2 separate regions of the Homo sapiens genome follow, and region 2 is linked to region 1. The links are contacts of gene promoters, found by promoter capture Hi-C in blood cells and fetal thymus (Javierre and others, 2016). All regions are on one chromosome and are shown on one strand. Each heading gives the region's core, a stretch centred on a gene start or on the middle of the fragment in contact. The rest is flanking DNA. Distances are from core to core; before and after follow the strand shown.

Region 1 (2,700 bases), core at 105-2,604:
AACTGAAACAGTCAGAAATCTTACATGACTGTTGCACTTTGGGAAGCCGAGGTGAGCGGATCACCTGAGGTCAGGAGTTCGAGACCAGCCTGGCCAACATGGTGAAACCCCCGTCTCTACTAATAATACAAAAATGAGCAGGGCATGGTGGTAGGCGCCTGTAATCCCAGCTACTCAGGAGGCTGAGGCAGGAGAATTGCTTGAACCTGGGAGGTGGAGGCTGCAGTGAGCCAAGATCACACCATTGCACTCCAGCTGGGGCGACAGAAGGAGACTACATCCCCCCACCCCCCCATTCTCCCCCCCAAAAAAGAAAAAAAATATCTTACATGACTGGAGATATGGAATTCCTAATATTCTTACAGAAGAAAACTAAAAAATATAAAATACTACATCTGAAGTCATCTTAAAAAGTTAATAACATTAAAGGACATTAGGCCTAACGTGATACATTTATATAGCAATAAACGTTACATAAGTGCTACATAAATGTATCACGTTTAGCGCATTTAAGGCTGATTACAGCTTCCTAAAACTGGATGCCTAACAGGAGGATGATAAAGCAAGAGGCGAAAATATCAACTGTAGGGTTCGATAAGCCATATCAAATCATATTTGGAATAAAGGAGGGTAGCAGACGGCAAATAAATATGAATTTTCCAAACTTATGTTGGACTGGTGCGTACGTTAATGAAAATGCTTTCCCTTTAGCTTCAACACTGAACATTAATGTTGATATAACAACGTTTAAGAACAAATAAAGATCAGGTTTATGCCTGGGACGTTTTGGAAGGGCCTGAAAAAACTGGACAGAGGCAGGATCGTCATTTTTCCCCAATGACTCCTCCCCACGCCGTCTCGCCTCTCTGCCTGGCCAAGCCCAGATGAGCCGCGGGCAGAAAAGGGTTCCCAAAGGGTCACTGCCACGTTAAGAGGCAGGAGGCCCAGGCGTCTGGGAGCCGCCAGAGCAACGCCGCCGCCTAGATTTTGCAGCCGAAGGTGCACTGGCAGGAAAGCCAAGTGGAGACTGGTAGAAGGGAAAGGGCAGGGGGAGGGACGTTCCGGCCCGCTCCTGGGAAGAATCGTCCTCCGAACCCGAGCCGCGGCCGCCCCTGATCCCGCAACGCGGGTCCATCAGGGACTGCAGCGGACAGCGCCCTTCTGTCTCCCTGACCCCTGTCCGCTCCCGCCCCTTTAGCTCTCCGCGGGCGGCCCCAGGGCTGAGGCGTGCAACAAGCCGCCCCACCACCCCCAGAGTTTCCACAAACGCACCGGAGAAGGCCGCCATCTTCACCCCGTCCTCCGCGGCTTCGCCTGCTCGCTCCCTCCCTCCCGACTGACACGGCGTGGCAGTGGCGGCGCGCGCTTCCGGCCCCTGGTCTTCGGCGTTCGGAGTCCGGGCAGGGACTCAGCCCCGGGAGAACGGTTCCGATGGAAGGAAAGGCCCGCGCCGGCCCCGCCTTATGCGCCTGCCGCTGAGCGGACCTCTGGGACCTAGGGCTTCTGGACGCCGCCTTCGTTCTGGGCACCATGTGTTCGGAGCACACCACGCGGTATCAGGGTCACAGCTACAGAGAAGGAAGCAGATGTTTGGTGATTAGGGTCATCCAGTGGGCTCAGGCTGACACCACACCGTGCCCTCCCCACTCAGTCCCCCAGCTTTCCAAAGGTGAGCAGGGCCTTGGTGTGTGAATGACCCGGAGAGATGGACTGGATTCATTGCCCTGAGCACCAATGCCAGTGAGTGCCTGGCAGCCAGTAGGTATTTGTTACATTTTTTTTTTAAACTAAGTAATGATTTAGGTCTCCCTCCCTTCACCCATGTTTGATGTCGCTTTTATAATTTCGGGTTTGACTTCCATGCAATTTTAACTCCTTTCTCTTTGCAGAGAGATGGGGAAAGTAAATGAGGAATCCTCCCAACCAGACACTCACTCTGTCAGGAAGGTATTAGAATCTTTAGATGAGGACTCTAAAATTCGGGAAAGTTAAGTCACTTATCTAAAGACACATATCTACCGAATGGCAGCGTGGGATCTGAGCCACATCTGCGCAATGCGAGGGCGCGTGCTGTGCTATCTGTAGCCTGCCCCAGAGTGTCATGGAGAAAAGTGGAACCCTCAGGCAAGATAGAATAGGGTTGCAGCGGCCGGGCGCGGGGGCTCACGCCTGTAATCCCAGCACTTTGGGAGGCCGAGGCAGGCGGATCACGAAGTCAGGAGGTCGAGACCATCCTAGCTAACACGGTGAAACCCCTTCTCTACAAAAAATACACACACACACACACACACACACACACACAGAAGAAGCCGGGTGTGGTGGTGCATGCCTGTAGTCCCAGCTACTCGGGAGGCTGAGGCAGGAGAATCGCTTGAACCCAGGAGGCGAAGGTTGCAGTGAGCCGAGATCGCGCCACTGCACTCCAGCCTGGGTGACCGAGCGAGACTCCGTCTCAAAAAAAAAAAAAAAGAAAAAAGAATAGGGTTGCAGCTACTCCGGAGGCTGAGGCATGAGAATCACATGAACCTGGGAGGCGAAAGCTGCAGTGAGCTGAGATCGTGCCACTACACTCTAGCCTGGGCGACAGAGGGAGAGTCTGTCTCAAAAAAATAAAAAATAAAAAAGATAGAATAGGGTTAGAAGTACAGAGTTGGGAACCATATTCTGAGTTTGGATTCTAGGTCTGCCACTTGCTTGCTG
Region 2 (2,700 bases), core at 166-2,665, 3.8 Mb after region 1:
TCCCCCTGTGCTTTTCTAAAAGAAAGGAACTGCTGATAAGCGAGACCTGGGTGGGTGAAAGAACTCGCTCAGGGTCCCACAGAGCTCAGGCAGAGCCCAGACCTCCCGACCCGAGTCCAGGGCTATATCCAGGCCTGGCTCCACAGGACCACAGGGCCCCACATGCAAATAGGAATAATAAGCGCCAAAACACACAACCCATGCACAAAAACACTCAATAACAAATGCTGGCAAACGTGAAGTGCTATCAAAGTATATAATCATAAATCCAACTGTTACACCTTTCAACAAGAATCTGGGAGCAAGAAAAGTGTTCATGTGTGGATGTGCTTATTTCTCAAATACTATACATTCCTCAACTGCTTACTTTCATTAATAAGACCCAAATTACGGAACAAAGGATAAACAGTCAATCTCACAATCACTACCCCTAGACCACCATACCACAACACCCCCAATTAAAAAAACGGCTACAAGCTTTGATTTCCCAAAACACTTCTATCCTGTGGGAAACTGCCGGGTTCTAAAACATCTCCAAATTAATACTGCCAGTTGTCTTAGTTGGTTTCCTGCTTGCTGATCAAAAACAGGGTTGACATCTGCTTTCTCCAGCAACTACTGACCACACAAATTACCTACTCTAGCTCCACAGCACTTAAGTTACTCCCAAAACGTTACTTCTCATCCTGCATTTTCCTGGCCTTGCCCATAATAAAATTACGTGCAGGAGCAGCTGACGGAGCTCACTAGGCCTAGCACCTCCTAGGCTGCAAGAAAGGTGCAGAGGCCTCGCAGGGGAGAGCTGTAATATGAGAACCGGGATTCCAACCTGGGCTCAGCCTGCCCTGCCGCCCGGCAACTGTATGACCTTGGGCACAGAGGTCAACCTCCCTGAGCCTCAGTTTCCTCAACTGCAGCGCTGGAATCCTAACTCCGGGGGAAAGAAAGGCTCTCATCCCAGTCCCCGGCGCAAAGCTGGGGATGATCGCGCAGAGCCAGGACGCACCCGCGCTGGCCGGCTGGAGCTAGTCCCCGCGGTTCTGGGACTGCGCGGCAGCCCCCAGTGGCCCCTACGCCGCTCGAGATCAGCCAAGCCGGGCCCACACCGGGCCTCGCGGCGCGTCAGGAAAGCCAGGCCCGAGGGATGCTCGCGAGGCCCTCCCGGCCTCCGGGGCCTGTTTCCCCGCCTCCCTCCCCCGAACCACTTCCCGTAGAGGGCCCCGGGGACGTAGCCCGGCCGTCGGTCCTCGGGCCCCGGGGCCGAGCCCCCGCCTCGCCACGCGTCCTCAGCGCCCCGGCGCCGCGCCCCGCCCCGCCTAACCCGAGGCTGCGGCCCCTGCTCCACAGCGGGAGGCTGGAGGCGGCGGCTACTCACCGAGCGGCGCCGCGCGTGGCCGCCTTTGTATTGCAAACACCCAGCCCGCCGCCGGCTGTCAGCGCAGCTCGCCTTCGGGGGCGGGGCAGGGGCGGGGGCAGAGGGCAGGGGCGGGGCAAGCGGGGCGGTGCGAGGGGGACTCGGGACGCGCTGGTGGCCCGGCTGCTTTCAGGGCCTGCTGGCCGGCCCTGCCCGCTCACCCCTGGCCGCCTATCTTAGCGTTCCTGGGGGTGGGGCCCCTTAGGCCGCCTTTCTGATTTTCCTTTCCAGAGCCAAACTCGTGTGTTTCTTCAACACTCTGACTTGACCTATGCCGATGACTGGGGGAGTGAGGACGGAGGGGTGCAGAGAAAAGGCAGCCAGGTAAAAGTCCAGGTAAACCACCCAGGGCCTGGCCGCGATCACGTCGGTCCTATGGGTCCCGCTTATCACCAGTGGCGGGATCTGAGCCCGTCCTTGACTTTACTGACCCTCGCCCTTCGTTTCTTCCACCTTAAAGGCGCAATCGCGTTGACCTATCGCCATCTCTTCTTAGCTTCTCCACGCCGGGCCACCCCTGTCCTTCATCCTGATGGTGACAGCCTCCACTCCCGCCTCTGCCAAGCGGTGGTCCAGGTGCGGAACGGTGGCTCTGAACAGGAGGGACAGGCAGCTCCCTGCGCCTCTCCAGCCGGGAGGCAGGCAGCGGATAAACAATGAGCCACATAACGTCTGGTGGTGAAATGATTTCCATCAATGGGAGGGTGTCATATTTGAACTGAAACTCTAAATGACAAGAAACACCTATGACTACAAAGATGGGGAGGAGGCAGGGCTTTCTGGAGAGCAGAAATGGCAGGTGCAAAGGTCCTGGGGCCGGTGCTGTGGGCTGGAGGGAAGGCAGGGGCCAAATATTCAGGTCTTGTAGGCCAAGGCAAGGAGTTTAGGTATTATTTAAATGTTATTCCAAACCAATTCTTTTTGAGACAGGGTCCCACTCTGTCACCCAAGCTACAGTGCAGTGGCACAATCTCGGTTCACTGCAGCCTTCACCTTCTGGCCTCAGGCAATCCTCCTGCCTCAGCCTCTCAAGTAGCTGGGACCACAGGTGCATGCCACCACGCCCAGCTAATTTTTCAAACTATTTGTAGAGACCAGGTCTCCCTATGTTGCCCAGGCTGGTCTCAAACTGCTGGGCTCAAGCAGTCTTCCCACCTTGGCTTCCCAAAGTGCTGAGATTACAGGTGTGAACCACCACGCCTGGTCCAAAAAGAATTTTAAACCTGGGAATTATATGATCTAATTTACTTCTTTAAAAAGTCACCCCTCCACTCCATGGAAAATGG

Evidence for each region. Contacts are between HindIII fragments. The CHiCAGO score rates a contact against its expected background, and 5 or more counts as called.
Region 2: the fragment with the promoter of LPIN1 here is called in contact with the fragment with the promoter of DDX1 in region 1 in 2 of 17 cell types (non-activated CD4 T cells and naive CD8 T cells); the score reaches 10.2 in non-activated CD4 T cells.

Annotation. Positions count from the first base shown.
Region 1 is chr2:15,590,522-15,593,221 of GRCh38, reverse strand. It overlaps DDX1 (DEAD-box helicase 1), which reads right to left and starts at 1,354. Exons shown (of 26, transcript NM_004939.3): 1 at 1,273-1,354. The coding sequence starts at 1,288. It overlaps LOC124905975 (a long non-coding RNA gene), which reads left to right and starts at 1,453. Exons shown (of 2, transcript XR_007086224.1): 1 at 1,453-1,762; 2 at 1,890-2,700. RefSeq lists an enhancer at 1,256-1,315. The HindIII fragment of the contact is 5,190 bases long and covers 1-2,700 here.
Region 2 is chr2:11,745,347-11,748,046 of GRCh38, reverse strand. It overlaps LPIN1 (lipin 1), which reads right to left and starts at 1,415. Exons shown (of 21, transcript NM_001349206.2): 1 at 1,376-1,415. LOC124907735 (a long non-coding RNA gene) reads left to right here and starts at 2,588. Exons shown (of 2, transcript XR_007086220.1): 1 at 2,588-2,700. RefSeq lists enhancers at 1-163, 2,675-2,700 and a silencer at 1,167-1,736. The HindIII fragment of the contact is 2,521 bases long and covers 480-2,700 here.